2 separate regions of the Homo sapiens genome follow, and region 2 is linked to region 1. The links are contacts of gene promoters, found by promoter capture Hi-C in blood cells and fetal thymus (Javierre and others, 2016). All regions are on one chromosome and are shown on one strand. Each heading gives the region's core, a stretch centred on a gene start or on the middle of the fragment in contact. The rest is flanking DNA. Distances are from core to core; before and after follow the strand shown. Region 1 holds the start of CIMIP3 (ciliary microtubule inner protein 3). Region 2 has its middle 9.5 kb from the start of MIR4641.

Evidence for each region. Contacts are between HindIII fragments. The CHiCAGO score rates a contact against its expected background, and 5 or more counts as called.
Region 2: a contact is called between a fragment that was not itself captured here and the fragment with the promoter of CIMIP3 in region 1, in 1 of 17 cell types (activated CD4 T cells). The highest score is 6.2, in activated CD4 T cells.

The regions. Positions count from the first base shown.
Region 1 is chr6:42,153,303-42,158,048 of GRCh38, forward strand. It overlaps CIMIP3 (ciliary microtubule inner protein 3), which reads left to right and starts at 2,104. Exons shown (of 2, transcript NM_001384994.1): 1 at 2,104-2,183. The coding sequence starts at 2,175. It overlaps GUCA1ANB-GUCA1A (GUCA1ANB-GUCA1A readthrough), which reads left to right and starts at 2,104. Exons shown (of 5, transcript NM_001319062.2): 1 at 2,104-2,291. The HindIII fragment of the contact is 11,083 bases long and covers 1-4,746 here.
Region 2 is chr6:41,605,892-41,610,637 of GRCh38, forward strand. No RefSeq gene overlaps it. Among named protein-coding and RNA genes, the nearest start is that of MIR4641, 9.5 kb to the left of the region's middle. The HindIII fragment of the contact is 2,425 bases long and covers 1,705-4,129 here.

The DNA of each region.
Region 1 (4,746 bases), core at 854-3,353:
CAGAGCTGGGATTTGAAACCCAGGCAGAGTGGGTCTGGATGTCATGATCTTAACCATTATGAAATTTACCAATGAAATAAGGCAGATATGGCTCATCTGGCCAGGACTTCCTAAAGGCGATCTCCCCAGCCACTGCCTCCTCTTGAGCTCCCCACAGTGAGGCTGACATGGCCTGGGCTGGGTACACTGCTGGCAGGGGCCTACCACCAGATGTCAATGCCTCCTGCCCCACACAAGTTCTCCCCACCTTGGACATCAAGTATCCAAGGTGGAGGGACACAATGTCCTCATGATACACATAAGACACTGAGCCTGGAGAGGGGACAGGACTTGTCTCAGGTCACCCAGTTCTCCTGGTTATCAGCCCAGCACCTCACCCCACTTTGGCTGAGACAAAGTACAATGTGTGCTAAGCCGTGGCTCCCCCAAACCCACACCCAGACACCTGGGCTCCCTCCTGATAGCTCCTTCAGGCCATTTTCCCCCAGATGCAGAGATGCTGGGCACTCTGTCCAGAATGCCATGTCCCCAGCCTCCCTTCCAAACAAGACTCCACCCTCCCCAGAGCGCTTGGAGATTGCCGGTCAGAGGCTGTGGCAGGGGAAGCCCAGTTAATGCTCCGCTGCTCCTTCTCTTTCTCTCCTGGTGCCTCCCAGCCTCCTTAGAAATTAGGGGTCATTACCATCAGGGTGTGAGATCTAGGGACAGCACACAAGTCATCAACACCCCAATTTCCAGTCTGCCTTCGGCCCCAAAGTGCATCTTGTCAGCGTTGACTCAGGGCCAGGAAGAAAACAAATAATTCCGGGCCCAGCCCAAGCTGGTGTGGCAGGAAGGCACCCAATAGCTCTATCTACCTCCCGCTGGAACTCTCTCCTTCCCCTCAACCAAGGGAGAAGCCCATGTCATTCCTACATGTGGGATTTCTGACATTACTCCTGGAAGCTGCCTACCAAGTGTGGTATTGGGGAGACAGGACCCTAGGGAGGTAGGGGAGCTGATTTTTGAAGATGGGGACAGGACAGCCCATTCAACCACCCACCCATCAATCCAATTACCCACCCACACATAGTCATAGCTGATGTTTACTCAATGCTTACTCTGTACCAGGCACTGTCCTAAGTGCTTTGCCCAACTCTATTAGGTAGGGACTTTACCCATTTTACAGATGAGAAAACAGAAGCATAGAGATGTCAATTAATTTTCCCAAAGTTACACACTAGTAAAGTAGTACAGCCAGAATTCAAGCTCAGGCATTCTAACTCCCAGACCTGCAATCCTCTATACCACAGCCATCACCATCTGTCCATTTACTGACCATCCATCCATCCACTCACACATGGTCACTCCTATTCAGCCATCTGTCTATCCACCTGTTCATCCATCCCTTTATCTCCCAACCCTCTGTTCAAAGCAATCCATGAGAAGGAATGGCATATGTAGAGGCTCAGAGGGGAGAGAGTGGGGCATGTCTAAGAAACTAGCTACTCCATAGAGAGCAAGGGAAAGATAGCAAGAGATGAGGCTAAGGAGATGAGCAGGGCTCAAATCACAAGGGTTGGCCCATCCACCATCTATCTGCCAACCCAGTCCATCCACCTGTCCATCCACCCTCCCACTCATGTCCACCCATCCATTCATCCACTCATCTCTGTAATTTGGAAGGCAGATAGATGATAGATAGATGATAAATAGATGATTGACAGGTGGTAGATGATAGATGATAGATAGATAGATAAATAGATAGATAAATAAATAGATAGATTAGATAGATAGATAGAATGAAGAGTTGCCAAGGTACATTTCCTTCCTGACAGTGATATTGGGACATGGGGGGATATTAGGACTTCTGGAGGCACCTTGATAATTAGGATGATCTCTCTCCATTCACCTCCTGCCCACAGTTTTAGGGTTCTATGGGTTTGTGGGAAGAGGGAATAGCATAGTGGGCCAGTGTCAAGGTTAAAAGACCCTTCCAGGTCCTGAAACGTCAGTCCCCAGCCCTGGCCTCATGTCTCCTTGGGAAGACAGAAGGAATTGTGTTGTAAAGAGGTGTCACAATGCCCCCTGCCCCATACAAGTTCTCCCCACCTTGGCACTCTCAGTATCCTGCCAAGAGTCCTCCCTGACCACCAGAAGTTCCACCTCACCATCAAGAAAGGCCCTGGTCCAGGATGTGCAAGGTGTGATGAAATCACAGGGCTGGGGAAGGTCAGCTCGGGGTCACAAGAAGCCTGATGGGCAGGAAAGAGCATGAAAGCCCCAGCCAGCCTCACATGTGCGGCTGGGAGGTAGGTCCTCTTACAAAAGGCTTAGTTGGGTGCTGGTGCTGGTGCTGCTGCCTGCCTTGTACTCCCCAGCTGTCGGACCTCTGCGATCTCTCTGGGGAGATGGAGAGAGGGAACAGGACACCCTCCATCTTGCTTCCTCTGCCCCTTCACTGCTGTAAAGTGTGTCCTGGACTGTTTGGTTCGTGTTACACCATCTCCAAGGCAAACTTGAGATAAATAATAATTGTAGCTAAAGTTTGAGTGCTTAAGAGGTCTAGGCACCTTACATGGACTAGCTCATTAAGTCCTCACATGAACCCTATGAGGTAGAGCTCTTGTTATTCCCACATTATACTTCGGAAAATTGAGGTACAGAGATTATAATTTGCCTAAGGATCAGGCAGCTAGTGAGTGAGAGGGCTGGAATTCTATTTATTTTTTTTTTGAGACTCGCTTTGTTGCCCAGGCTGGAGTGCAGTGGCACAATCTCAGCTAAGTGCAACCTCCGCCTCCTGTGTTCAAATGATTCCCCCACCTCAGCCTCCCAAGTGGCTGGGATTACAGGCACCTGCCACCACGCCCGGCTAATTTTTTTGTATTTTTAGTAGAGACGGGGTTTCACCATGTTGACCAGGCTGGTCCCGAACTCCTGACCTCAAGTGATTCTCCTGCCTCGGCCTCCCAAAGTGCTGGGATTACAGGCGTGAGCCACTGTGCTCAGCCATTTTTTTTTCTTTTTTTTTTTTTTTTACTTTTTTATAAAATAGAGATGAGGTCTCTCAATGTTGCCCAGGCTGGTCTTGAACTTTTGAGCTCAAGCAATCCTCCCACTTCAACCTCCCGCTGAATTACAGGTGTGAGCCACCGGGCCCTGCAGGGAACTGGAATTTGAACTGGGGTAGCTGGCTCCAGGCTCTCATGCTACCCAGTCACATGAGGAAGCTGAGGCCTACCCCCGGCTTCCCTAACCACTCCCTTCAAAGCCCCTGTGCTCCCCCAAAGGGAAACGTGCTCTCCTATAGGTTCAGACAGGTATGTGTGTGAAACCACGGTGTAACTGCCCGAGAGGCTGAGAGTAATGACTATTTGCACTGTGCCTTTACCGTTCCCAGCACTCATGGCACCCCACCACAAGCTGGTGAATTAGATAGCCTTATTATCCCCATTTTGCAGATGAGGCCCCTGAAGCTCAAAGAGGCTCAGCCACTTGCCCAAGGTCGCCTGACCTGTAAGAACAGGGTCAGGCCCAGAGCTCAGACCTTCAAACACCAAAGCCAAGGCACATTGGACAGCACCACGTGCCCCTGGGGGCCCTCACCAGCCTTCACACCCAAGTGCTATTTGCATTTCAATAAGGCACAAGGCCTTCCCCCAGAGTGAGGAGGCTACAGGTGGAATTTCTCACTGGGCAAGGCCATGTGCCTATGGCCCTGGAGGATTTGAGAGGACAGGGTGCCTTCCTAGAAAACCTGTAGTAATATCACAGATGAGATCTTCTTGCCCTACTCAGAAAGCCCCACTCTTGAGTCATGCACTTCCTCACTCTAAACCCCGGCATAAGGGACAAACGCATATTAGTATATATGTACATATTAATACATGTGTACTGTGCATCTGAAAGGCCTTTGTGGGGTCCGCCTGTGGGGATGGGGGTTATGAAGGGATATTTCTTTTTTCTGAGACAAGGTCTCACTCTGTCACTTAGGCTGGAGTGCATTGGCTGATCTCAGCTCCCCGTAACCTCCTCCTCCCTGTAACCTCCTCCTCCCTGATTCAAGTGATTCTCCTGCCTCAGCCTCCCAAGTAGCTGGGATTACAGGCGTGCACCATCACACCCAGCTAATGTTTTGTATTTTTAGTAGAGACGGGGTTTTGCCACGTTGCCAAGGCTGGTCTCAAACTCCTGGGCTCAAGTGATCTGCCCACCTCAGCCTCCCAATGTGCTGGGATTACAGGCGTGAGCCATGGTGCCGGCTCTTTTTTCTTTTTTTTTTTTTAATAGAGATGGGGTCTCACTATGTTGGCCAGGTTGATCTTGAACTCTTGGCCTCAAGCAATCCTCCTGCCTTGGCCTCCCAAAGTGCTAGGATTATAGGCATGAGCCACCACGCTGGCCCAGTGAGGGATAATTCTACCTAGATTCCTTCTTTTGGCTTTAGCTTAGAACCCAAGTGAAAATAGGATCATGGGATTCCCAAGGGAGGGGAGGGGCTGGTGAGAATCTCTACTTGTCCTGTAACTTCATCACTCCCTGTAGAATGGAAATGAGGGAAGCAGTAGGGGAGATGGGGCTTCTTCCTCAACCCTCTAAACCAGGGTTTCTCAACCTTGGCGCTTTTGACATTGGACGCTGATGATTCTTTGTTGCGGGGGCTGTCCATTGTAGGATACATAGCAGCATCCCTGTCTCCTACCCGCTGGAAGGCAGTAGCACCCACCCCACACTGTGTGACAACCCAAAATGTCTCCAAACATG
Region 2 (4,746 bases), core at 1,667-4,166, 550 kb before region 1:
ACTTAAATAGGTACTTCACAGGTGTGGCAGGGGCCAGTGAGTGGTGCTGTGACCTTCAGAGGTGTGCAGAGCAGAGCCATAGAGATTCGACTTAGCAGGAAAGTTTGCAAGGCAGGGGATAGCTGAAAACACACAGGTGGACTGGGCAGGACACCTGGGGACAGCCAGGAAGGCTGGACAGGGAGACTGGGTTACTGGGAGGTGATAGTGGAAAGGCAGGCACCAGACAGGGGAGGACCCCGGAGGTCAAGCTGGGGACCAAGCTGGGGCTTGGGGGAGCTGTGCCCACAGGGGCATTTAGAGCAGAGAAGTAACAGGATTGACCTGAGATTGGGGGAATAGGCCAAGTGGAACCATATAGGGTGACAGGAGCCAATTAGGTGACTCTTGGGATTGTCCAGGTGACAGATGATGAAGGCCTAAGTAGGGTGGGGGGTTGCTTTGGAAAATAGTGTCAGGAGGCTTTTTGCAAAACAACAGAGTAAAAGAGGGGCTGTTGGCTACCTGAGAGAAAGGAGGTCAGGAACGAGCTCAACGGGGTCTTCCTAAATGTCTATTCGCAGGAGAGAGGGAAATCAAGTGTGGCACATTTGACAATGGAATATTATATTGCAAAGAGAATAAATAAAGAGCTCCCATCAGCAGGGTAAATTTGAGCAAAAAAAAAAAAAGTAAGTTGAAGAAAGATACATAGAGACTGTTCTCATTTGTATAATGTTTGAAAACATGTAATAATTCTATATATCATGTATGGGCACACATGTAGCAAACATTTAAATAATTTGTAGGAATGATAAATAACAAATTCAAGATGGTGGCTGTCACTCTGGGGAGGGGGATGCAATGGGGAGGAGTATTCAAGGGGCTTCAAGTCTGTTGGTAATGGTTAGTATTGGAGCTGGGTGGTGGGAACACAGAGGTTAAATCTGTTCTTCTCTGTACCTTTTTGTGGCTGGAATATTTCACTTAAAAATAAAAAAAGAATGGGCCAGGTGCAGTGGCTCATGCCTGTAATCCCAGCACTTTGGGAGGCTGAGGTGGGCAGATCACCTGAGGTCGGAGTTCGGGACCACCCAGACTAACATGGTGAAACCCGTCTCTACTAAAAATGCAAAAATTTGCCGGGCGCACCTGTAATCCCAGCTACTCGGGAGGTTGAGGTGGGAGAATTGCTTGAACCCGGGAGGCGGAGGCTCCAGTGAGCTGAGATCGTGCCACTGCACTCCAGCCTGGGCAAGAGAGTGAGACCCTGCCTTTAAATAAATAAATATATAAATAAATAAATAAATAAATAAATAAATAAATAAATAAAGGGGGGATTTAATAAATAAATCAATAAATAAAAGAAGAATGGCCCCAAGATTTGGGGTCCGTGCCACAGGAATAATTCTTATCCTCTCAGCCCCTGTGGGCTCAAGACAAGCAAGGGAAAAGATAAAATGTTAAAGGGGTTTGCAGGGGTGGCAGGACATCAAGTGGCTCCCATGCCCAGGACTGGACAGATGGAAATTGGCAAAGCACATCTGGGCCCACATCTGGTGGTGGGGCAGGAGATGTGGCCACAAAGGAAGGTGGGGATAGTCCGGGGATGGCAAGGAAGGAGAACCACAAGAGAGGGCAGTCCTGAGGGTTCACTGTGACAGAGGCCAAAGGGTTCCCAAAATTCGAGGCCTGGGAGCTGCTTCCATGGACTTGGCAACTGGAAGCTTCTGATGCCCTAGGACAGAATAGTTTCTAAGAAGAGTGAGGGCAGAATGGTGGGTTAGGGCAGCGGTCCCCAACCTTTTTGGCACCAGGGACTGGTTTCGTGGAAGACAATTTTTCCATGGACCAGGGTGGGGGTGAGGGGATAGTTTCGGGATGAAACTGTTCCACTTCAGATCATCAGCCATTAGATTCTCATAAGGAGCACACAGTCTAGATCCCTTGCATGCACAGGTCACAATAGACTTCACACTCCTGTGAGAATCTAGTGCCACCGCTGAGCTGACAGAGGCGGAGCTCGGGTGGTTATGCTCCCTTGTCAGCCGCTCCCCTCCTGCTGTGCGGCCCAGTTCCTAGCAGGCCACGGAGCAGGTCCACGGCCTGGGGGTTGGGGACTCCTGGGTTAGGGAGTCTGTATGTGGAGGGCAAGTAGAGGCACAGGTGTACGTCTCTCTTTCAGTGAGTTTAGTAAGCAGCAAAGGGAGAGAGAGAGGAGACCCCCAGAGGTTGAGAGGAGGTGGGACATAGCCAAGGAATGTCAAGAAAATGTTTTATTATTAATTTTCTCAGCAGTGATGGTTATATGTGCCTCAGTGTATTTTTAAGGAGCATGGGGCCGGGTATGATGGCTCATGCCTGTAATCCCAGCACTTTGGGAGGCTGAGGCGGGTGGATCACTTGAGGTCAGGAGTTCGAGACCAGTCTGGCCAACATGGCGAAACCCTGTCTCTACTAAAAATACAAAAAAAAAAAAAAAAGCCTGGCATGGTGGTGTGCGCCTCTAGTCCCAGCTACTCGGGAGGCTGAGGCATGAGAATAACTTGAACTCAGGCAGCATAGGTTGCAGACAGAGCGAGACTCTGTCTCAATTAAAAAAAAAAAAAAAGCAAGGGAAAAGGCAGAATGGGCTCAGATTATATACCTCTTTATGAGTGCATACATGAGCCAGCCCTTCTCCAGCAGACTCAGCAGTTCCCCTGGTTCTGATGTCTCCTTCCTTGTTATCTCCCCGAGAACTCAGGAACAGGGGACCCCTTCTGGGAAGGGCAGCCTAGAAACAGTCATGGGACTCACAGCTGGCAGTGGGAAGTCAAGAGCGGGTGGGAATCCCATCCCCAAGCAGAGGCCTGGGCTTGGTGACACTGAAGGAGGGTATGAGGCGGTTCAGGGGCTCCTCAATAGTTAAGACAAAGGCGGCTCTGGCAGATGGGCCGCAGTGTGGAGCACCTGTGTGAACAGGAGGCAAGGGAGGTGGCAGGGAACACAGGGCTGGCCTGCCTGTTAGACCTGCTAAGGCCTTCACCCCAGGAGCCTTCTCACCTCCCTGCACCCCTCCTCTATTGCAGTCGCCACCCCCACCCAACCACTACACCATTCACACAAGTTTCTCTCCTACTTCTTCCGTGGAATTCCTTCCTCATCCTTCTCTTGCTTCCTGCTTTGCAAAGACTGCTCAGCTGTCATTGGCTGTCCCCGGGTGCCCTCTCCCACAACCCGCTCTGGTCCTCAGCTGTCACACCTTTGCCACGACCCACCCCCAGCTTCCTGACTTTGCTTCCGCATTGGAGAATCACCCCAAACTGACGTGTGTATCTTTCCCTATCCCAGAGCGCACCCAGTCAATCCACAAACCTTTATTGAGCATCGATTCTACACCCAGCCTGGGGCTGGGTGTTACAGGTAATATGGAAAGCAATGAGTAGGCACAGGCCCTACCCTGAGGGGCTAACAGAGCAGCTGGAAAAAGAACACTGATAGGTTGTCCGGGCGCAGTGGCTCACACATGTAATCCTAGCACATTGGGAGGCCGAGGCAGGCGGATCACTTGAGGTCAGGAGTTCAAAACCAGCCTGACCAACATGGCCAAACCCTATCTCTACTAAAAAAAAAATATTTAAAAAAATTAGATGTGGTGGCAGGCACCTGTAATCCCAGCTACTGGGGAGGCTGAGGCAGGAGAATCAGCTGGCCGACAGAGCAAGACTCCGTCTAAAAAAATTTAAAAATTAAAAAAAAAAAGAAAGAAAGAAAATAACACCGATATGTAAAGAAGTAAAATAAGTCAAGATAAGGCCCCATACAAAAGAATATGCTTGACTCCCTTCTGCTGTAAGCACTCCCCATATAGAAAAGGGTCTTCTTATGACACTCCCAAGGAGTTTAATTTTACAAAAGTCTTTCCCATAAAAATTGTTATTAATATGGTGACAGAGAAGGCAGCTGCATAGAAAAGAATAGAAAGCAACAAATTATGAAGTATAACCGAGGTTAATCATTCATACATTCAAAATTTATTGAGAACTTTCTGCATACAAGGCACCAAGCTGAGCTCTGAAAGTACAAGATGAATAAGACACAGTCTGTCTCCTCAAAGAACTCCAAACAGATACATATATAAGCAGAAGAATGACATATATATATATGAAGCTTATAGATATAGACAGATATATAAGCAGAAGAATGACAATACAACATTCAGTTTGGGGATGGGAACCCAGAAAAGGATGTGTGCAACTTCCCTGGGGTAACCTGGGAAACTTCACACCAGGGAAGCACTTGAGCTGGATGTTGAGAGGTGCCTGAGCAGAGAGGACAGCACGTGAAGGGCACAGCGTCTGAAAGGAGCTGATCTGTTCAGAGTGCCCGTGTCCAGCAGTCATGGTAGGAGAATTAGGCCCAGAGACATAGATTGGAGTCAGATTATGGAAAATCACTGGCCTGACTCAGAACTTTGGACTTTTTACTCTAGACGAAATATTTTGTCTAGTATTTGGCCGGGCACAGTGGCTCACGCCTGTAATCCCAACGTTTTGAGAGACCAAGGTGGGCGGATTGCCCGAGGTCAAGAGTTCAAAACCAGCCTGGCCAACGTGGTGAAGCCCCCGTCTCTACTAAAAATGCAAAAACTAGCCGGGCGTGGTGGCGGGTGCCTGTAATCCCAGTTACTTGGGAGGCTGAGGTAGGAGAATTGCTTGAACCCAGGAGACAGAGGTTGCAGTGAGCTGAGATCACGCCACTGCACTCCAGCCTGGGCGACAGAGC